2 separate regions of the Homo sapiens genome follow, and region 1 is linked to region 2. Evidence: promoter capture Hi-C in 16 types of primary human blood cells and fetal thymus (Javierre and others, 2016). All regions are on one chromosome and are shown on one strand. The core of a region is centred on a gene start or on the middle of the fragment in contact, and the rest is flanking DNA. Distances in the headings are between cores, read along the strand shown.

Region 1 (5,894 bases), core at 2,975-5,474, 350 kb after region 2:
AGAAGAAGGAAGGAGAGGCAGATAGCATTTCATTTTTACTACTAAGGGATGCCTCACTGTGTTTCTATTAATGCTTATCTTTTTGCCTTAAATTCTATTTTGTTTGATAGTAATATAGTTGCAACAATTTTCTGGTTAATGTACACATGATGTTATCTGTTTCTACCCATTCACTTGCAATTTTTTCCCTCTTTATGTTTTTTAACTGTACAATGACATACAGAAGTTTATTCAGTTTATACAAGTAATTTCTCAGATTTATAAAGTAAAAAGCTAGACTGCCAGAGGAAAAATTCCTTACATTGATATCAAAATATCTTCTAGTCCCCATAAATCATCTGCAATCACTTGATAGAAAAAATATCCACAACCATATAGGTCATGCAGACTTTTAAAATGCTATTTGTATTCAGTTTGTTTCAAACTGAGCAAAACAGTGCAACTTTTACTTTTGTATACATTTCAAAATTATATTAATGTTCCTTCTCATTTCAACTCATCCCATTACCAATAAAACGGGAGTGAGATAAAAGGGGAGAAGATCCTTGACTGCTTCTCATTTTCCTTGAAATAAACTAATAATTCATTACAATTTTAATAAGTCATTATAAGGATAATAAAAGCCTCAAAGACTTTTTAAAATAAAATTATATAGTAAATAAGTAAATAAGCATTCAAATGTTAGTAACCCAACAGGCCCTAATACAGCTTTCAGATAGTTTCATATTAACAGGCAAATATTAGCACAGAAAAGAAGTTTCCCAAGAGGGACTCATTTTAAACATAAATCACAGCTTAAATTACTACTATACAGATTATACTGGGCAAAGACAGAAAGAATGAATGCTTTCCTCCGTTCATGAACTGTGTAAGGCTACGTTACAAAGTCAGATAATGGACTGTGAATCACCTACCATACCGATTAACCATGTTTATTTAAAGTTTTCTTAATATTAGACAATTTAATGGGGGTAGGAAAAAAGTAAACAACCATTTCGCTTCTTCTCTTCTTCTACTTTAGCCACATAAGCCAGTTGTAATGGATGATACAGGTTTCAGCTGCAATTTGTAAAATATTCCAAGAACTGCCATAGTCCCAAGAACTAGAGAAAACTGCCACCCACAAATAACCTACCAAAGTAAATATAAATACAGTATGATTCTAATTTTCTTTCATACAATCCCAGACAACCCCAAATAACTTTATAAAAAAGGAATTTACAAAGCTATCAAAACTATTTAAAATATTTAAAGGCAGAGTGGTCAAATTTCCTTCAATCAGACCAGAAATCATCACAAAAATTATGATCACAGTTACAAGCAGAATGAAAGGAATGTTTAAATTTAGGACAACCAACCCCATGTGACTTTTAAAAATGCAATAATTTACTCAAATATACTGTAACTAGAAATGGCAAGAATACAGGAAGCAAAAATAAGCTTGCGAGTGAAATTTCTAGAAGCTCATGGAAACCATCCCATCCCATATTGCAAATGCAAAAGGAAAAACAGTTCTCATAGAATTAAGAGTACTCTGGTCATTGTTGTTCATTTGGTCCTGCAAGGTGTTAACCACCTTCACTTCCCATGTCACAAAATTAGCCACAAGAGGAGCAGGTGGATCTTGTTCATTATGAGGACTGGTTGGCTTTTCAGGTACGTCGGATCCTCTTCAATCAGGAGGTCTCAGTAGGAACAAGACCACTGCAGTCACCAGCCAGGCCATCAAGATCATAGTAGCGCTGATGCCATTATCATCACAGGGTCCTGGTCATTCTTGCAAGCATCTGTCTCTGTGCAGCAGAGTTGGGGCTGCCACAACAGACTGGTCAGCCTTCTCATCGCATATTCATGAGAACATATTCATAGGGATCAAGCTCACTTTCTGCCATGATTATCCAGCTTGATTTTACTTGACTGTTTAAATACTTCTGGAGGCTGGGAAGTCCAGGATCAGGGAACTGGCAGATCTGGTGTCTGAAGAGGACTTGCTGTCTGGTTCATAGATGGTGCCTTCTCACCGTGTCCTCATAGAGTGGAAGGGGCTGTCTTTTTTATATTTTAGATATATCTTCTCTATGTAACATATTGATGAAAAATTTATTTTAATCCCAACTGATAGCCTGTGTTTAGATGGGCATAATTAGTCTATGGTTATTCACTGCGACTGAGGACATTTTGAGCTTATTTCATGACCTTACAGTCTATACGCCATGCCTTTGTTTCACCCCCTACCTGCTCATCTGCTCTCTCTTTTTTTTTTTTTTTGCCTTCCATTGCATTATCTTATTTCCCTTCCCTTTCTTTTACTGATATGGCAAATATACATTCTATTCTAATTGTGTTGTTTACATTTACAATTTTAACAAAATACCTAATTTTATGTTTTTCCATAAAACTTGAAAGTTGATCATCCTTCTTTCCTTCTCCAAAACAAGATACATACTTAAGCATGTGTAACTTTCTCCAAGATTTACATTTGCAGAATCTGTTATTGTTGTCTACTCTTTTAGACATACCTTATTTAAAATCCTAAATATAGTTCCTACAATTGTTTGTAGTTTGAGCTTATTGAGCTCTATCAATATACTTCTTTGCTTAAAATATTTGATTTCCAATCTTTCCTTCTTGTTGAAGTTAATCTTTTGAAGTAGTTCTGTGTAGGGGAGAGCACTCAGTCTTTATAAGATTGAGTTCAGAAAGTGGCTGTGTATTTTAGTTGGGCAGTTATTTTCTTTCAACACTTTTATACTGTGATTGCTACTGACATTTATTGTTTTTGAAGATAAAAATAGCCTGACACTTTTTTTCATTCTTTGGTTGCCTTTAAGCTTGGTCTTTATTATTGATGTACAGTTTCATTCTTACCCTGTTTGGCACATGTTATACTTTTGCCAGTCTGTTAATTCAAGTCTTTAGTTCTGGAAAATTCTTTACCAGAATATATTTGAACGATGCCAGTTGACAACAGAAATCCAGAGTGTGGATGTAGGAGGAAAGCCAGGGGAGTGTAGTGACAGGGAAGCCAAGAAAGGGTTTCTAGGAGAGGACAGTCATCTGGATCAAATGCTGCTAATGGTCTATGAAGAGTGGAATAGAAACCAGCAACTGGCTGAGAGGAAGGTGGCTGGGTCATCTCTTGCCCCAGGCTTGAGAGGGGAAGGCTTGAGGGCCTCCATCCTTGGCTTTGACTGGGCACCCCCAGGACTGTCTACAGCCCCATCCCTGTTTGGAACCTGACACTCAGCTTGGAGGAGAGGTCTGCATGCCCTGTAGCCTGTGTGAGACCCAGGCTGCACTGAGCCTCTTGGCAACACCAGGCCTGAGTTTGGGTCTGGCCCACAGGACAATGTTATAAAAAACAGAGTAGCTTTCCCCAGGAGGATCCGGGATTCATTCTGGCTCCCCAGGGCTTCTAGACCTAGAAGTCATCTGAAGTGGTGAGTCGGGGAGCTGGTTGGTCCTTTTGCAGTCCTCATTTATCTTTGCAGTTAGGGGCAGGCTTCACACCTTCAGGAACCAAGGGGCTACTCTCACCAAAGCCCAGACCTCATCCCAGCCTGCCCCATGGCTCCAGAGCTGGCTGAGAACCAGGCAGCGGAAATGACTGGGTGGGGAAGAGCTGGCAGCTGGCTCAGAGCTGGATAGCTTAGTTGGGAGTCTTCTGTTGCCCCTAGAATCCACTGGGACTGGCCCCAGGGTTGGTAGAAGCCATGGAGAGTTCTCCCATGAAAGCCCAATCCTCATCCTCATCCTCACTTCCTGGGAAAGGAGTAGGCAGGTTCCAGGCCTCACACTTAGGCCCTGGAAATGATGTAGTGGCAATGGAAAGGCCCCTCCCTGGGAAAGGGACCTGGCAGTTTGCAGTCCTTATTTGCTCCCAAGAAAGAATTTTGCTGGAAAGGAGTCCTCCCACCAGAGTGAAAGGGATACAGAGGAAAGGATTAGGTTGCGAAGGGCATGATTTATATCTTTGGGGGGAAATTTAAGGAAACACTGCTCTCTGTCGCCCACTCAAGCAATCAAAATATCAGACCCAGCCCTGGTCCTCAGAATGTCCCCATCTTCAGCTTTGACTGGCCCCCCAATGACTGGCTAGAGCCCCATCCCTGATTGGAACCACACACTCAGCTCTGAGGAGAGGTTTGCCTGCCCTGTGGCCTATGGGAGACCCAGGCTGCACTGAGCTTCTCAGCAACACCAGGCCTGAGATTGGGCCCAGCCCATGGGGCAGTGTGAAAGGAAAAGAAATCTCAGGATCAAATCAGTAGGCCAAAGAGAAAAGTGAAGTTGGGAACTGGGGGCAAACCTGTCTCTCATTTTATTGCTAAATGAGATAGCTACAAAGATTAAAAAAAAAAATCCTCCCTCCCTCCCTCGCTCACAATTTGCCCACTGGGAAATTCCTTCTGGGACCCAGTGTCTCAACCCTGAAACAGTTCTGTTGAATTTCACCCCGACAAAGTACACTGATAGCTTCTCTTCATAGGTACGGGACAAAGAACAGGACTCAAAGCCATCCCTCGGCTCCCCTGAGACAAATGCATATCTGATTGCTTCCTCTGCCCTATGTTTATTTTATCTTAGGTAAAAGTGCAGATCCACTGAGCTAGATGAATTCATAAGTGACTGTTCCTCTACCCCTTCTGGCATAGAGAAAAGCTGATCAAACTCAAAAGAATGCGACTGTTTGCCTCTTATGAACTCACACCTTTTAAAAATGTCTTCCTCTTCCCCCAGTAGCTACCCTTTCCCCTCTAAGTATTGAAGTCCTCAAAATCATCTTTGGAGAAAGGCACAGACCTGTCTCTCGGGCATGAATCCTTAACCTTGACAAAATAAACTTCTAAATTGAGACCTGTTGCAGGCACCTTTTGGTTTACAGTAGCAAACCTGGAAGCACAGAAAGGCAGATCCCAAGCAGAGGAACACTTACAGCGGGCCGTGACCCAACCACAGTCACTTAGCCTGAGTGGCGGGTGAGGCAGCAGACAACAGAATATGTCTGGAACTCAGAGCCACTCCTCCCCCAGCCAAGCTGCCCCTCAACAAGTTCCCCATCTTGGCTTCTTAGGGCAAAATTCAGCGTCTGGGTGTGCACTGCCCTCTTCTGGTCATTTGGTTGGTAACACGAGCAGCCAAGAGCTCCCCTTTGGAAATAGCAGGAGCTCTTTCCAGTTCCGATTTTTCTGCCAACCAGGCTTGTTTCCACACAATGACTCATAAGTGAGATAATGAAGGGCAAGAACAAGTTAAAATATTTACTATAATTTACATTTGGAGGAAAAACTTTAGTCTTACATTGCCTGTAGAAAGAATGTGTCCTACAGAGGATTTTGCAGTGGTTTAACCCTTTATATTTTTTTGATAAAGCACACATTTACTTTTTTTTTTCTGATCATACAGAAAACTTATTTATTGAGACCACATAAATATAAGAAGCATGGCTTTGGTGTCATTTAGAAAGTGAACATGTGTCTAAGAATTTTCACACTAGATTGTAAACACTAACATAACTGATCTATCCATCTTTGGATTTTCATTGAGATATTTACTAAGTCCATCATCCGATGCTTTTGAGGACATGAAAGTTAAAGAGATAAGAATCTTGATCTCAAGAAGCTTTATTATTTTTAAGAATGTTAATAAAGACTCTAAAAAGAAGGCAAACAGGGAAATGCATCCTCCCCAAAGCTGCTAGTGCCAGGACTAGGCGCCTTCCCCAGTCCAGCGGCTGCAGGTTGGGTTGCTAAGAGCTTACCCTGCCCTCTTCTGCAGACAATTGCTGGCAGATTTCTGAGGGGTAAGACTACCCCCTTCACCTTTCTCATCCAGGGTGGCCGGTAGCCAGTGACTGAGGGATGTAGGGGTAACCGCCCAGCCGCCTTGCCTCT
Region 2 (5,636 bases), core at 1,420-3,919:
GTGACAGAATGAGATGCTGCCTCTAAAATACATACACACATATATCTATGATACCCTTTAAATCATCTGCAGTGCTCTGTGTTTTGTATGCATTTATAAATTTTTTTTTCTGTCCATCTCCCCATTTGCATCTTTCCCCATTCTCTCTTCAAGAAGGCATATATTTTACAGTGTTAAATCTGCAGCACCCATACACCTGGCACGTGGTAAGGGCTCAACAAATATTTTTAAAGGAGTAAATGAATGGAGGAATGAATGATTTTTTCTCTTTTCACCTTCGTCTGCCTCCACGGGGGAAATCTCTCTTCTGACCTACTATATAACACCTACTATCTGTGATACACAACAGCAGTCCTCAACATTTTTGGCACCAGGGACCAGTTTCGTGGAAGACAGTTTTTGCATGGGAGGTGGGGGATGGTTTTGGGATGAAACCGTTCCACCTCAGATCATCAGGCATTAGAGTCTCATAAGGAGTGCGCAACCTAGGTCCCTCGCATGTGCAGTTCACAATAGGGTTTGTGATTCTATGAGAAGCTAATGCTGTGGCTGATTGGACAGGAGGTGGAGCTCAGGTGGTAATGTTCCTTTGCAGCTACTCACCTCCTGCTGTGTGACCTGGTTCCTAATAGGCCACAGACCCATACCGGTCCACAGCCCAGGGGGTTGGGGACCCCTGATACACAATCTCTTATGGAGCATAAATCTGTCTCATGTTATTCTTTCATTATTACACATCATCCATCAGTGTGTCTTCACAGCTGGAACATGAGGGCCCCTGGACCAAGCATCATACTGTCTCCTGCAACTCTGCCCTTCTCTCTCTACATATAAGAGCACATGGCTCTTTCTCACATAGCACAACATGTTCAAAAGAGGCTTCTCAAAGAACCATTGCACGTTGAGAGGGGAAATTGCCTGGAGATTATGGTGCAATCTGCCACATTAAAGCTACGTCCTATGGAGACTGTATAGGGTGAGATAGTTGCTTCCCAAGTGTGGTACATGTGCCAGTGGTGGTTGTAAGGTGATTTAGGTGAATGCATACCTTTCTGGTTTTGTGTTTGTTTTAATGTGTATTAGAGATTTAATAAGCACATAAAACCCAAGATCTTGTGGCTATTACTGCTTGGGAACACTTTCCTTTTAAAATAAATTGTAAAACATGTATGTGGATTTAAAGAAAATAATACATAAGTAACTGTATAGGGGTTAAGGGCTGAATTGTGTCTTTCAAAACTCCTGTGTTGGGCCGGGTGCGGTGGCTCACGCCTGTAATCCCAGCACTTTGGGAGGCCGAGGTGGGCGGACTGCCTGAGGTCAGGAGTTCAAGACCAGTCTGGCAACATGGTGAAACCCCGTCTCTACTAAAAGTACAAATATTAGCTGGGCACGGTGGTGGGCGCCTGAAATCCCAGCTACTCAGGAGGCTGAGGGAGGAGAATGGTTTGAATCCGGGAGGTGGTTGTTCACTTGGCAGTGAGCCGAGATTGCGCCACTGCATTCCAGCCCGGGCACCTGAGCGGGACTCTGTCTCAAAAAAAAAAAAAAAAAAAGAAAAAAAAATTCCCGTGTTGAAGTCCTAATGCCTGGTATTCCAGAATGTGACTGTGTTGGATAGGGTCTTTAAAGAGGTGATGAAGTGGAAATGCAGTCATTAGGGTGGACCCTATTCCAATACAACTGATGTCTTTATAAGAAGAGATTAGGACACAGGCACACACGGACGGCTAGCCACGTGAAGACACTGGGAGAAGGTGGCCATCTATAATAGAGGCCAGGGAGAGAGGCCTCAGGAGAAACCATCCAGCTGACACCTCGATCTTGGTCTGTAGCCCTCAGAACTGGGAGACAATAAATGTGTTGTTTAAGCCACATGGTCTGTGGTACTTTGTATGGCAGCCCAAGCAAAGGAATACAATAGGTAACATGCGGAAGTGGCAAAGATTGTGAAGGTGGAACCCAGGTGACTAAGTTCGGGGAAAATGTACTGGGCTTGGTTAGAAACCCAACTTTCCCAGTACCCAGCTGTGTGGGCCTCAGCAAAATCTTAGCCTTTCTGAATCTCAGTGTCCCGTTTTAAAGAATGGGGCCAACAGTAACTACCTAGCCAGGAAGTTGTAAGGATTAAAAGTGCAACCGTGAGTTAAGAGCTTGGTGATCAATAAATGGCAGTCTCATTACGGGAAAGCAGGCACCAAGGGGGCGAGGAACATCTCCTTTAATTTCGGTGCCCAAGAAGCAGAATGCTGGGCTTCCTTGCCCCCACCGTCAAGGCCCGCCAAGGTCAGTAGCGTTGGTGGCCCCAGAGGGGGCCGTGGTGCTGAGGGTGGACCTGAGGGGGTCACTTCCCTGTGAGTTTAGTCCTCCAGAAACAAGGAGGCAGGTATTCTTCCCATTTTATGTCTAGGAAAATGGAGCCTCGGAGCGGAGCGGTAATTTGTCCTAGGCCTCTCAGATGACCAGGGCCAGGGTCAGAGTGAGGCCCCGAGTCCGGAGCCGTGGACGGGGCCCTAGGCGACACCAGGGCGCCCTGACTGCGGCCTCCCACTCCGAGACGCGAGTTTGCGGGACGCTCCACCCCTTCCCTCCCGCCCCAGCCCGCCAGCCCCAGGGAAGGGGAGGAGTTCTTGCCGCGCCGACGCCGCCGTCGCCACGGCAACGCGGCCATACTGCGCCGGACAGACCCAGTTGCCTGGTGCTGCGGCCCGGCGTGGGCCTCGTGGGCAGAGCCAGAGCCAGAGCCATGGACAGCCTCTTCGTGGAGGAGGTGGCCGCCTCCTTGGTCAGGGAGTTCCTCAGCAGAAAGGTAACGGCTCGCCCCCTCCAAAGCCCAGGAAGTGGCTCTAATTTGGGGGGATCATCGGGGTCTCCCCTGAAGGCTTTGCAGCTTCTGGGAGGGCGCCCGTTCCCTACCTACTGCCTGCTCCAGAGATGCCCCAGAAGAGCGCCGCTTTCCCGGGACAGGGGAAACTACATTTCCCACGAGGCGTTTCTGCCGTCGTCACCGGGCGCTTCCGCAAGGCACGGTTTGGACCCCGTCCGCTGCCCTCCTGGGGCATCCGCGCTCCGGGGCGGCGGCAGCTGGGGAGGGGGCCTGGGGGCCGCGCCAAGCAATCCTAGCGCGGGCGCACAGCGGGCAGGCCTGCGCCCTAGCCTGGCTGCCGGCCTCCGTGCGCTACCCACGCAAGTCAGGGTCCCACTCGGAAAGAACTTCTCCCAGAGGGAACCCCAAAAGCCCAGAAAAGTTCTTGACGGTCAAACCCTTAGTCATTTTAGTCAACAGTGGGAATTCCAGTGGTTGCTTTAATTTTTGTAAGTTTTCCTATTGTCTTGTCCCAGGAGAGTTTTTGCAGTGTTCACAAGCTTGGAAGGTCCTTAGCTGTCATCTGGCCTCAGGGTGGAGATGGGGACCTCGGTGGGGAAGGAGCTCGCCGGGGGGTCTTGGGCGTGGTAGTGGAGGGGGACATACATTAGCTCATTCAGCACATGGTGACTGAGGGCTGCACTCTGTGTGTTTTGTCTGTCCTTGCAGTGTCATACTGGGCTAGGGCGATGGGTACTTGTCTTGTATGAAAACACATACACGTAATTTTTTGAATGGAGGAAAGGGGAAGGACTTTGAAGTCAGACGGAGACAATTCAAATATTTGCTACTAGTTTGCAGTGTGAACCTCAGTACTTTACTCACTGTCTCAATTTCGTTATCTGTAAAACAGGAAAGTAAGACCTACTCTTTGCAGATTTATAATGAGGATTAATATTAACATATGGGCAGCTTCCAAGCATTGGATCTGACATATAGATACAATGTGCACGTAGGTGTTCAACTTTATACCTCCTCCCACCCTCACTGTTTCTGACACCAAACAGGTGTCTCTGAAGTGCACCTGTTTGGAAAGTGTCTTTGTGTGTTTTTTATGATTTATTTTTATTTGAAAAAATTTTAAATGCGTTTGGCTTTGTCGCATCTGCCCTGTCTTTATGGCTAATTGACCTGCCATCACCTGTCCTGGCTGCATGTTGGATATCAATTGACACACCCTGGAAAGCTGACTGTTAACATCATTTCTTTTAAGTCTGGGTCACTGAAAAAAACTCTTAGAGAGGGCTTCCTCGTGTTCTTTCTTGAGTACAAATGAAATCCAGTGTCCTCACTGACATCCAAGCCTGCCCTGTAGCTTGACCCCAGCTTACCATCTCAATTTCATTTCTAGCCTCTCCCACATCCCTCCCCACCACCCCCCACTTGACATGGCCGAGTTCCCCTGGTCTCCTCTCCCTCGCATGTTTTATCTGGGCACACTAAGGCCCTAAGAGTAGAAAGGAGTTGCCCACAGTTACTCAGAAGGTCACAGTGAGCTGGGACTGCAGCCCAGGTATACTGCTTTCTCATCGCCTTCTGCTCTAGGGCAGAGACCACGTGCTCCCCACAGGGTTTTGCACAGGCAGTCATTGCACCCAGCAGTCGTAACCAAGAGAGCTGCCACCTTGGTGCCAGGTACCTAGAAGGTGCTGGTTTGTTGTCTCAGATCCTCGTAACAGTCCTGAAAGATAGGTATAAGTATTCCCTTTCACATAAGATTATTGTGAGACCAGGAGGCCAAGAAACTTGCCCAGGGTGAGCAGGTCAGACCATGTAATTCCCCTGCTCAAACCCCTCTACTGGCTTCCCATCATAATTAGACTTCAAGTCTCTCCATTACTTGGCTCTGGCTACCCTCAGACCTCATCTTCCATGACTGCTTGCTCCGCCCTCTACCCTTCAACCACTTTGGCCTACTTGAACTCACCAAGTGTGGTCTTCCCTCGGGGGAGTCATGATAGTCTCCTGGAGATGGCAGGGTCTGCTGAGGTGACTCTTCTGCTGCCCCAGCTTCTTGAGTCTGTGGCTCCACTCCTGCAGTGACTGTGCCATCCTCCCTCTGCCACCCTGCCCCATGGTCATGAGCTGGGCTTGTTGTTACCAGTACTGCGCCCTTTCTGTAATCTCAATTCCAAGCTTCCCACCTGTCAAAATTTCTAGCTTGTTTCCCATCATAGCCCCACGTAAACTCTTCTCCAGCCTCACCACATCTATATTGCATTGTTCCTGCCAACTTTTCACAGTCCCTCGGGCCTACCATAACCCACCTACCTCTCACCCACCCATCCTTATAATTGCACCCTCCATAACAGGTGCAGCTCTTTTGCGCTTCTCTCCTTTCATCATTCTCTTCTGACAGTAAAATTCCACTCGTCCTGCTCTACACTTGCGCCCATAGAGCTGAATGAGATTGGAGAGAAACACACACCACTATGTTGATGGTATCACTCTAAATCCATGGCCACTCACCCTTGTGGTGCCTTATGGGTGCCTGCCCACCTGGTTGCAACTCTCCAGACTGTTTACCCTCTGAGACCCTGGATGACCATTTCATACCTTCTCTCTCTTCAAACCCTGAAGCTCCTTCCCCATCTAATTTCACTGAGAAAACAGAAGTCTTGAGAGAAGTCCAGCAGGCTCCCACTACCACACTTACTCACCTTCCTGGGCTGCACCATTCACTCTGCTCTCTTTAGTGTTCTTGTGGATGAATTCTCCATACCCCTGGTTAGGCCCACCCCTCCATGTGTGCATGCCCTCTCTTGTGTGC

Evidence for each region. The method cuts DNA at HindIII sites, captures the fragments that hold promoters and counts their contacts. A CHiCAGO score of 5 or more calls a contact.
Region 1: a fragment that was not itself captured here is called in contact with the fragment with the promoter of MINDY4 in region 2 in 2 of 17 cell types (M2 macrophages and endothelial precursors); the score reaches 6.7 in M2 macrophages.

What each region holds. Positions count from the first base shown.
Region 1 is chr7:31,117,679-31,123,572 of GRCh38, forward strand. It overlaps the pseudogene LOC124901821. Among named protein-coding and RNA genes, the nearest start is that of ADCYAP1R1, 68 kb to the left of the region's middle. The HindIII fragment of the contact is 2,791 bases long and covers 2,830-5,620 here.
Region 2 is chr7:30,768,748-30,774,383 of GRCh38, forward strand. MINDY4 (MINDY lysine 48 deubiquitinase 4) reads left to right here and starts at 2,670. Exons shown (of 18, transcript NM_032222.3): 1 at 2,670-2,809. The coding sequence starts at 2,747. The region is part of intron 3 of INMT-MINDY4 (INMT-MINDY4 readthrough (NMD candidate)); the gene reads left to right. RefSeq lists silencers at 2,551-2,600, 2,661-2,710, 3,081-3,230 and an enhancer at 2,786-3,080. The HindIII fragment of the contact is 5,437 bases long and covers 1-3,364 here.